3 separate regions of the Homo sapiens genome follow, and all the other regions are linked to region 3. The links are contacts of gene promoters, found by promoter capture Hi-C in human tissues and cell types (Jung and others, 2019). All regions are on one chromosome and are shown on one strand. The core of a region is centred on a gene start or on the middle of the fragment in contact, and the rest is flanking DNA. Distances in the headings are between cores, read along the strand shown. Region 1 overlaps RNF157 (ring finger protein 157). Region 2 overlaps RNF157 (ring finger protein 157). Region 3 holds the start of QRICH2 (glutamine rich 2).

What was found. The method cuts DNA at HindIII sites, captures the fragments that hold promoters and counts their contacts. A contact is called where the count stands out against the background at its distance.
Region 1: a contact is called between a fragment that was not itself captured here and the fragment with the promoter of QRICH2 in region 3, in 2 of the 25 tissues and cell types used here (adrenal gland and small bowel).
Region 2: a contact is called between a fragment that was not itself captured here and the fragment with the promoter of QRICH2 in region 3, in 6 of the 25 tissues and cell types used here (H1 embryonic stem cells, bladder, hippocampus and 3 more).

The regions. Positions count from the first base shown.
Region 1 is chr17:76,197,772-76,201,372 of GRCh38, reverse strand. The region is part of intron 2 of RNF157 (ring finger protein 157); the gene reads left to right. Among named protein-coding and RNA genes, the nearest start is that of RNF157, 41 kb to the left of the region's middle. The HindIII fragment of the contact is 4,834 bases long and covers 1-3,601 here.
Region 2 is chr17:76,213,362-76,217,239 of GRCh38, reverse strand. All of the region lies in intron 1 of RNF157 (ring finger protein 157), which reads left to right. Among named protein-coding and RNA genes, the nearest start is that of RNF157, 25 kb to the left of the region's middle. The HindIII fragment of the contact is 4,066 bases long and covers 1-3,396 here.
Region 3 is chr17:76,306,733-76,310,318 of GRCh38, reverse strand. It overlaps QRICH2 (glutamine rich 2), which reads left to right and starts at 2,043. Exons shown (of 19, transcript NM_001388453.1): 1 at 2,043-2,854. The coding sequence starts at 2,321. It overlaps PRPSAP1 (phosphoribosyl pyrophosphate synthetase associated protein 1), which reads left to right. Exons shown (of 10, transcript NM_002766.3): 10 at 1-841. The HindIII fragment of the contact is 11,814 bases long and covers 1-3,586 here.

The DNA of each region.
Region 1 (3,601 bases), core at 487-2,986, 110 kb after region 3:
GCACAGCTAATTTAAAATTTTTTCTTTTTCTCTTTTTTTTTTTTTTTTTGTAGAGACTAGGGTCTCACTATGTTGCCAAGGCTGGTCTTGAACTCTTGGGCTCAAACAATCCTCCTGCCTCAGCCTCCCAAAGTGCTGGGATTACAGGTGTGAGCCACTGTGCCCGGCTCTTCATATTCTTCTATGTTGTTTGAATTTTTTCCAGTGAACGTGTTTTCATTTTTAAATGAAAAGTATTTTAATTTTCTTTAAAAATAGAGGTGGAAATACTTCTAAGTAGAGGAAGGAAATAGGTTTAGAAGAATATTTAGAAGTAGGAAAATTAAGGGAGTTCACAAAATAATGGTTTTAATTTTTTAGTGAACTACAGGAAAGGTAGGGTCTGCTCGCTGGGGTTGGGATGTGTGCCAGGAAGTGTCTGGGGGCTTGCGGAGAAAGACAGAAAACCAGAGTAAGCATGGGGAGGAGGAGAGTCAGGGAGCTCGGTCCTCTTGGTGCCAACATGCAGTAATTCACCTTTAGAAACAGTTGATTCGAAATGGTATGAGATTCAGTATGGAAGTGGCCTGCTTTTCAGCAACCTGACAGTAAAAGAACTAGAGGATGAATATTCATACTTTTAAAATGGTTTAGGGCTTTAAAGAGTTTCACTTAAGGCATTCTTATAATACATGTCTCCCTACTTCCACGCCTTCCCCAGGGGTGACCACCCTGCTCATCACACATCGTTGTACAGTCTCCAGAACTCCTTTCATCTCACAAAACTGAAACTCTGTCCCCACTGGACACTGACTCACCATTTCCCTCTCCTACCAGCCTCTGGCCTCCACCATTCTGTTTTCTGCCTCTATGAGTTTGACTACTCTAGGTACCTCATACGAGTTGAATCATAGAATATTTGTTCTTTTGTGACTGGCTTATTTCACTTGGCATGTGCTTGGTTCATCCATGTTGTAGCATGTGTCAGAATTTCCTTTTTAAGGCTGAATAATATGCCATTATATCGATACACTGTATATCCATTCATCCATCAATAGACAGACACTTGGGTTGCTCCTGCCTTTTGGCTATTGGGCTAGGGAAGAAATGCCTCGGTTTTTTTTGGTTTTTGTTTTTGTTTTTTTTTTTGACAAGACGGAGTCCCGCTCTGTCGCCCAGGCTGGCATGGAGTGGCGCGATCTTGGCTCACTGCAAGCTCCGCTTCCCAGGTTCACAGCATTCTCCTGCCTCAGCCTCCGGAGTGGCTGGGACTACAGGCGCCCGCCACCACACCCGGCTAATTTTTTTTTTTGTATTTTTAATAGAGACGGGGTTTCACTATGTTAGCCAGGATGGTCTCGATCTCCTGACCTCGTGATCCGCCCGCCTCGGCCTCCCAAAGTGCTGGGATTACAGGCGTGAGCCACCGCGCCCGACCTGAAATGCCTAGTTTTATGAAATTATGTAGGCTTGTTGTAGGTTCAGTTTTGAAATTTAACTTGTTTTTATGTTCTTACAAAAAGCACTTTATTCAACTTATATTACTTTTCATCCTTAATAAAGATGAGGACATTATCCCTCTGTTTTATGGAGTTGGATTTCTATGGTAGGTGGATCTTCAGAGAGACGGGGTCCCAGTAGCATGAGCAGGTGGCAGTAGGATGGAGACCAGCGAGCTGCGTCACCAAGTGCAGTCACACTTCACGTTGAGATCACCAGTGATAAGAAGGGGCACTCCCAGAGAAGTTGAATCAGTGTTTATACCTATTAGTATTGATGTGGCTCTTCCTGCCAGCTGTTCTTTTTTTTTTTTTTTTTTTTTTAACTTTCAGCTGCTTTTGGCAGGGCACAGTGGCTCACATCTATAAACCCAGCACTTTGGGAGGCCAAAGTGGGAGGATCACTTGAGCCCAGGAGTTCAAGACCAGCCTGGGCAACATAGTGAGACCCTCTACAAAAAATAAAGGAAATTAGCTGTGTATGATGGAGCGTGCCTATAGTCCCAGCTACTCAAGAGGCTGAGGTGGAAGGATCACTTGAGCCTGTGAGGTTGAGGCCACAGTGAGCTGTGATCAAGCCACTGCACTCCAGCCAAAACCAATTTGGAATATAAGTACACTGGGAGAAGGAGGAAGAGAAAGTAGAGGAAGGAATAGTTTCTTCTTTGTTCATGTTTTAATCTGGTCTCTGTACTAGTTGAGAAGATAGTTTTCTTAAATGATCATAACATGTTGCCAACTTTGATCTTCTTTCCCCTCTCTGTTACACAAATCACTGACTAACTGGCTCACTCCTTCATTATTCCCTCAATCATTTACATTCTGTGGAATACCCATTGTTCTCCAGGCTGATGTTAGACACTAGAAATACCGATGAAATGCAGTCCCTGCCTGAAGGAGTTGTACAGCTAGGAAACATGAACACGTCGGAGGAGGGCCCATGAGCAGAGGCACAGAGACATCTCACCAACAGACGGTGTGTGCACTGCAGGTGATTCAGCATAAGCAGGTGTGGCATCCAGAGGGTGGGAGGAGACTTTGCAAGAGATAAGACTGAGATGCCAGGCCTGGACCAAGGGGCCTGGTATGCCTCCCTGTGAGCTTCGAATTTTTGTCCTGTAGGTGTGGGGAACCACTAATGGGCTTTAAACTGGGGCTCACAGAAGACACATTTTAAAAGATCTCTCAGATGAAGTGTAGAAGGTAGATTAGAGAGTCATGAGAACGGATACAGGGTAACCAGTTGTCCAACTGAGATTTGATGGAGGTTTGACCTCAGGCTGCAGAAGGAATGAAGAGGACACTGACGTATACGGCAGAACCTATGCTGGTAACCAGTGTGGGGCAGAATCTAGGGTGTGGTAATTAGAGTATGTTCAGGCCCCCCAAAGGACGCAGCCAGCTAGTGGATTTTCCCACTTTATGTGCAGACCTATTCTCGTGGAGTAGACACGAAGCCTTTTGAACTTTTCCTCTAAAGATCTCTGTGGCAGTTTTGGAATCAATTACTGTGGTCCATCATTTTTCCAAGCTCCCAAGAACCCCCCTCCCCCAGCACATATCAGATCCAAGGCTCTTGCCAAGGTGTTCATTCTGTGTCATAAGAGAATGTCCCTGTATCAACAGGCTCTCCCTCATCCAACTTTGTATTCCAACACCCTCAGGAACCCCTCCCACACATCCTCCAGGTCCTGCTAGTGCCTTTGTTGGCCAGGTCCCAAGCACCTCTGGCATGATAAGCCCTCTCCTCTCTTTGCAGGTCCAGCAGGCCCCGGTTGAGTAATACTCAGATAATGGCCCTAATTATGGTTGGGTGGCCAGAAAGGAAGGTGGGGGCAGGTCCTCTGTAGGGTGAGCATTGTCTTTTAAGTTACTCGCCTCATTTGAGACCTCTGTGTAATCATGAAGGGTGGAGGAGCAGGTTCCTCCCATCTTCAAGGGAGAGGGCTATTTGCAAGCCTAGGGAATCTGGGGTTCATGTTCCTCAAATAAATATACACAGACGTTCCCATCTCAAGTCTTAGAGTTCACTCCTTCCCTACCAGGGCCTGAATCTGGCACAGTAGACTAGTATAGGCTGAGAGTTCATCCTTTTTGATTCTGCCACTCTTAAAATTAGGTCT
Region 2 (3,878 bases), core at 114-2,613, 92 kb after region 3:
CCAGGAGTTTGAGACCAGCCTGGCCAACATGGTGAAACTCCATCTCTACAGAAAAACAAAAACAAACAAAAAATAGATGAAGGTTTGGGGAGCTCTTTTTAATTCATACAATCTTGCACATTTTATGCGTCTTCCCCTTAATAACCAAAAGTTTAGAAATTAATATTGCTAAAGAATTATTGAGTGATTGAACAGGTGTTCAAGCTAATTTTAAGTAAAAGTAAGAACAATTTTGCCAACTTTGTAATTTTGAGAAAATCATTCCCAGTTATAAGTATACAGCTTATATAGCTTTTATGGGGTTTTTTGTTTGTTTGTTTGTTTTTTGTTTTTGTTTTTGTTTTTTTTTGACACAGGGTCTTGCTCTTTTACCCAGACTGGAATGTAATGGCGCAGTCATGGCTCACTGCAGGCCTGACCTCCTGGGCTCAAGTGATCCTCCCACCTCAGCCTATTGAGTAGCTGGGACCACAGGCTTGGGCCATCATACCCAGCTAATTTTTTAATTTTTTGTCGAGACAAGGGTCTAATTATAATATATTGTGAACATTTTTAATGTCAGTAGATATAGATTTACAACACCACTTTGAAAGGCTTCATAATACTCTACTGACTGAATATACCATAGTATTATTATTATTATTATTTTTAAATATACAGAGACAGAGCCTCACCATGTTGCCTAGGCTGGTCTTGAGCTCCTGGGCTCAAGTGATCCTCTCACCTTGGCCTCCCAAAGTGCTAGGATTACAGGTGTGAGCCACCACACCCAGACTATTCTTGATTTTAATGCAAGGCAAAACTACAATTAGCTCTACACATCTTTTGTGGTCATTTCTTTTCTTTTAATATTATGGCATAAAAGGGCATTTCTAATCGAACCCTGTTGCCTGCTTTAACTCTTTAGCCCCCAAATCATTAGGGGTCCTCTCTCGCTAGGTTCAATCATGGCCACCTCTAAGCCAATCATCCATGGATTTTTACTGCCCCAGATCCCTCCCCTGAGATCTCACAGGTACTGGAAACTCAGTGGTCCCACACTGAGGTCAACCTAGACAATTCCAGACATCAAACTCTCTTCTCTCCCTTTCTTTTTTCATGATTTGGGCAAGCCATCCATCTGTGTAACATCTTTAACTTTTCCAATTTTACCTAATATATGATAAATGTATAATTCCTGATGCATAGAAAATATATCTTGCTGAAGTTCATCAGTAAATGACTTAAATTATTTGAGATTGCTGCTTCTACTTAAGGCAACTAGGTACCTCCCCTCTCCATAAATTATGCACTTGGAAAATAGGGCTAGCAAGTGCCAGACATAAATAATTGATAATTAAGCTTTCCTAAATGATGAATTCTGCTGTTGTATCACTGTATCAGATGGCTGCCCTTTGTCTTTTTAAGTTTTAATGGGTGACTTTCAGTAGTTCCTCAGTGATTGCTTTGATCTGGGTTGCATTATTACTCTCAAAGAATGTTTTCCTGCTTGTTTAATTCAATAGTTGCCTCACTTTGTGGTGAGTGATTTTATCCACATTGTTTTATTTAATAGATGTTTCTAGACTAAAGCTCCTTGTGTAGAAAGTTTTAAAAATGAATGTTTGGTTCAGTTTTTGCTAGAATTTTCTTCTCTGTCTTCCTTCCTATGGCTTCTCCACAGGCTCAAAGTACTGAATCTCATTTTTTTTTTTTTTTTAGTTTGCTATAAATCTTTTTTTCCTTTTTTCTTTTCTTTTCTTTTTTCTTTCTTTCTTTTTTTTTTCTTAGAGAGGGTCTCACTCTGTCACCCAGGCTGGAGTGCAGTGGCAATCATAGCTCGCTGCAACCTTGAACTCCTGAACTCAAGCGACCCTTCTGCGTCAGCCTTCTGAGTAGCTAGAACTCCAGACGCATGCTACCATGCCCAACTAATTTTTGTATTTTTATTTATTTTTTGTTTTGTTTTTAGTAGAGACAAGGTCTTGCTAAGCTTGCTAAGTTGCCCAAGCTGGTCTCCAACTCCTGGCCTAAAGCAATTCTCCTGCCTCAGCCATCCAGAGTTTTAGGATTACAGGCAAGATCCATCACACCCTGCCTGCTACAAATCTTCAACAAAAATTGCAACTGATTTAGGGAGTTTGTGTATATCCTCAATGTATTATACACAAGCAAGCCTTTTGCCACTTAATAAGTTCCTTGTGTTAATTTCAGAAATGGGGTATATGAGAGTGTTGATAAAGGTATATTATGGGATGTGTCCTTTACTTTGGACAGCTTACCTTCATGGGAGAATTAGATAATAGAAATTAGAGGTAAGCGGCATTCGTTTAATCATCAAACTTAAAATGTATTCCCAGATGTAATTTTCAGCATAACCTAAGCCTCCTTTGGTGACTTCTCAGTTCCATCATATCCTGTCACAGTTCCTTGGTTTGTCCGGATGAGGCTGATGGGAATTTTGGCCCCTGACTGCTGATTTCATTTGGTTATTATATTGCACTGAAAATATTTCTGCCTCCTGGCTGATTAAGAAGGGGCAAAGGGGCCCTGCCATGACTGATGTCCCAGCAGTTCTGGCCATTAGCACTGTTAATGAATTTGAGGTGGAGAGGGTATGTGTGTAGCCTTCTTTCATAGCATTAAATTGTCCCCTTATTTTACACCATAGTCTGTGTAGTAATTGGTAGAGAAAGCCAGGGATAACTGTATTATCTAAATTCGTATTTTCCTGTGAAACAATAATGTTTGCAGCAAGTTAAAGTGTGAAGAACCTTCATCATAGAAGGTTATGGAGGTATAGCAGTAGTGGTGGGTGGGTACTGAGACTTCTGTGTGTAGGTATAAGCTGGCTTATGAAAATCTAGGCAAAGAAATGTGTGCGTCTGCGGATATAGGAAAAAAACTCAGTTTCTCCTATACACTCACAACACAAGCAGCACAGAAAACTTCTGTGACCTCTGGTCAGCAAAATGTGTGGGGATTCTCTCCACCAGCAACCACTCAGTTCTGCAGAGGACACCAGCTGGGTGTCCTCCAATTCATTTCACTTCTGATACTACTTGAAGATAGTGTCCCATCCCACAGGTTGAGGGTGCAATCTCACAAGACTGCCCCCCACTTCTGATGCCCATCGCAAGCCCCAGGTTGTTTTACCTGTGCTTCCAACTAACCAACCAGAAAGCAGGGTTCCCATAACCCCCTCCTTGGGTGTGATTAACTTGCTAGAGGGACTCACAGAACTAGAGAAACACATTTACGAGTTTATTATCAAGGATATTACAAAGGATACAGAGAGAGATACATAGGGCGAGGTTATGTGAGAAGGGGCACAGAGCTTCTATGCCGTCTCTGGGCATGTTACCCTCCAGAAACCTGTAAGTGTTCCCCTGTTTGGAAGCTTTCTGAACCAGTCCTTTGGGTATTTATAGAAGCTTCATTACATAGCATGGTTGATTACATCATTGGACATTGATGATCAACTTAACTTTCATCCCCTCTCCCTTCCTCAGTGGTTGGGGGATGGGCTGAAAGTCCCCACCCTCTAATCCTGCCTTTTCTTTCCAGTGACCAGCCGCCATCCTGAGGCTACCTAGGGGCTGCCAGGCAGTGGTTAATTCATTAGCATATGTAAAGACAAAAAAAAAAGACATCACTTTGGATATTCCAAGCATTTTTTTTTTTTTTTTTTGAGATGGAGTTTTGCTCTGTCACCTAGGCTGGAGTGTAGTGGTGTGATCTTGGCTTACTGCAACCTCTGCCTCCCGGGTTCGAGAGATTCTCCTGCCTCAGCCTCCCAAGTACCTGGGACTTCAGGCGCATGCCACCATGCCTGGCTAATTTTTGTATTTTTAGTAGAGATGGGGTTTCACCGTGTTGGCCAGGCTGGTCTCTAACTC
Region 3 (3,586 bases), core at 794-3,293:
AAGCATAAAAAGACTACAAAGAGGCCAGGCATCATGGCTCACGCCTGTAATCCCAGCACTTTGGGAGGCCGAGGTGGGCAGATCACTTGAGGTCAGGAGTTTGAGACCAGCCTGGCCAATATGGTGAAACCCTGTCCCTACTAAAAATACAAAAATTAGCCGGGTGTTGGGGGAGGGGGTGCACGCCTGTAATCCCAGCTACTCGGGAGGCTGAGGCAGGAGAATTAATTGGTTGAACCCAAGAGGCAGAGATTGCAGTGAGCTGAGATTGTGCCACTGCACTCCAGCCCAAGTGACAGAGCAAGATTCCATCTCAAAAAAAAAAAAAGACTGCAAAGAACTAGTTATTTTGATAACCCCTTAAAGGCCTACTGTGTCCCAAGTTATTGGAATATAATGATGATCGAAAATCCTTCAATTAAATAAACAGTACCTCTCAGGCTGAAGTGAAAAATCTGAACTTGAACAGTAGTTAAAATAGTACAGTTATTCCTTACAATCCATGGGTGATTGGTTCCAGGACTCAACCTCCTGCCCATGGATGTGCAAGTCCCTGATAGAAAATGGTGTAGTATCTGCATATAAGCTATGCACATCCTGGATGACTTGTAATACCTACTGCAATATCCTGTGTAGATGGTGGTCATGCTGTATTATTTAGAGAATCATGACAGGAATCTGTACGTGTTCAGTCGTGGTTGGTTAAATCTGCAGATGCAGAGCTCACGGAGGAGGCTGGCCATGCATGGCACACATTCATAGGTTCTCTTTAAGTAGCCTTGCTGTGCTTCTGTTAGGAAGTTTTATTTATACGTTTTTGGGAAGAATCTTGTATGGGGAAGTCATGTCTCAATTGTTAACACCAGATTTGTCTCGTGCTGTTTAATCCTGCTTTGTAATGAGCTCAAGCACAGGCGCTTGACCAGGTGAGTGGTTTCTTTTCTTTTCTTTTTTTTTTTTTTTGAGACAGAGTCTTGCACTGTCGCCCAGGCTGGGGTGCAGTGGTGCGATCTTGGCTCACTGCAACCTCTGCCTCCCGGGTTGACGCGATTCTCCTGCCTCAGCCTCCCGAGTAGCTGGGATTACAGATGCGCGGTACCATGCCCGGCTAATTTTTTGTATTTTTAGCAGAGGGGTTTCACTATGTTGGCTAGGCTGGCCTTGAACCCCTTACCTCAGGTGATCCACCCGCCTCGGCCTCCCAAAGTGCTGGGATTACAGGTGTGAGCCACCAAGCCTGGCCGTTTTTTTGAGATCAATTAATTTATGGCAGGCTGGGCGCGGTGGCTTACACCTGTAATCCCAGCACTTTGGGAGGCCGAGGTGGGTCGATCACTTGAGGTCGGGAGTTCAAGACCAGCCTGGCCAACATAGTGAAACCCCGTCTCTGCTAAAAATACAAAAAATTAGCCGGGCATGGTACCACGCATCTGTAATCCCAGCTACTCGGGAGGCTGAGGCAGGAGAATCATGTCAACCCGGGAGGCAGAGGTTGCAGTGAGCCGAGATCGTGCCATTGCACTACAGCCTGGGCGACAGAGCAAGACTCCCTCTCAAAAGTAAAAAAAAAATTATGGCAGCACAGAAAAGGGACAATTAGCCACCAGTTAGTCATCTAGTGGCTAATTGGAACTGCCTGAATAGTGAGTGGGTTGTCTTTTCCAAGTTGCTTCACCTTTGATTGAACAAAATATGTGGACTGTCTGAGGGGACCAGGGCCCCAGGACTGCATCCCTTAGACATGGGGCCATAGACATGGGGCCACCACTCTGGAATGGACGCAGCTGATGACACAAAGCATGGTTGCCAGGAAACCCTCAAGTCTTTCCTTATGTGGCCCCGCCAAGAGTGAGTGAATCCTGGCCTTTCTAGGTTAAGGGGATGGATGGAGTCTAGCTGGATCTTAGGAGGCCTCCTCAGCCCGTTGCCAAGGCTCCCCTTGTGATCCTTGTGGTGGCCTTTACTTCCCCCCGCCCCCGTGGCTCGCAGGGAGGCGTGTTGTTACGTGGAATCTTCAGGGCACGCGGGGGCCCCCACGTTTCAAACGTCCGCCGGCGCGGGGACTGGGAGTCCAGGGCTCCAGCTCGGGGACCCGAGGCCAGCGACAGACAGCGGAGGGGTGGCCATCGCGGACCCCGCCGGGGAGCGGAGGCGCAGATTCCCTGGAGGCAGGAGCTCTGTCCAGTGACTCGGCCGGACCCGGGGCAGGGGCGCCCCGAGGACCTCGCAGGGCCCCCGAAAGGCCCCAAGGCGCGGCGTGCAGTGAGCGGGAAGTGGTTGGCCGGCGCCCCGCGGCGGCGCACAGCTCCTGACAGCCACGATGCCGCCCGCGACCACGGTCTCCCTCCGGGAGCTGGCGGACCTCTCCATCGGCACGCCAGAGGTGGGCGCCGTCAACTTCACGGCCCTGCACACGCTCATCGTGGCCATGCTCAAGAACCTCGACCTCCAAAATACCCGGATCGACTTCCAGCCCTCGTCGCCCGAGCCCAGCCGCTCGCTGCAGTCCGTCCGGAGCTCGTTCAGCATCCCGCACCTGCCCGCGCCCAAGGAGGTGCCCAAGGGGGCGCCCCGGGAGAAGCGCAGGGGCGTGGGCCAGGCGCCTTCGTCAGCGCTGGAGAGCCAAGTGAAGGACCTGGGCGGCCAGGTGGAGGACCTGAGCAAGCAGCTCAAGCGTGTGGACGGCCAGGTGCAGGGCATCGCCACGCACGTGCAGCACTTCTCCCAGGCCAGCGGGCTTGACCTGGCCGCGCTAGAGTGGCCGGAGGAGCAGGAGGTGGGCGTGCGGGCGTTCGATAGGGTGCGGACTGGGAGTATCATGAAGGACGCCGCCGAGGAGCTCAGCTTTGCCAGGGTGAGCACGCACACGGAGGCACGCGCAGGCCGTCTGCCTCCTCCAGGCCGCCCTCCAGGCCTAGCCGAGTCCCCACCACCCTGGAGGGGTGAGCGGTGGTGGGGACGGAGGGGATGGGGACCGAGGAGGTGCCAGACCTCAGTGCGACTGGCTAAATAGAGTGGCCCATGCTCTACCTTGCAGTCCACGGGGCTGCAAGACGTGAAAATCCTAAAAGAACGCCACCAAAAGGCCTAGGGCCTCCCCGAGCTGGAGGGGCCTGGGGACCCCACCTCCTAAGTGTAGTGGCCCCATCCCACCCCCTCCTTCCTAGCCCCTGTTTACGGGAGAGGTTCGCCCACCACTTATCAGACATCCAAGGACCCAGAGCTGGCTCAGAGTGGGGCCGGCAACTTCTCAGAAGATTCTTAGAGTGAATTCCCTTTTTAAAATGAATAAGGACATGAAGAGATACGTGTTGAGGACAAAGGCTCCCAGAGAAGGGGAGTCAGGATGGAGAGTTGGACCTCAGCTTCCTATGGCCATGACACAAGCCACAGCAGGCAGGGGACCGTTTCACTTGGACTTTTTTTTTTTTTGAGAAGGAGTCTCACTCTATCACCCAGGCTGAAATGCAGTGGTGCAGTCTCGGCTCACTGCAACTTCCGCCTCCCAGACTCAAGCGATTCTCCTGCCTCAGCCTCCCGAGTAGCTGGGATTATAGGCGCGCGCCACCCCGCCTGGCTAATATTT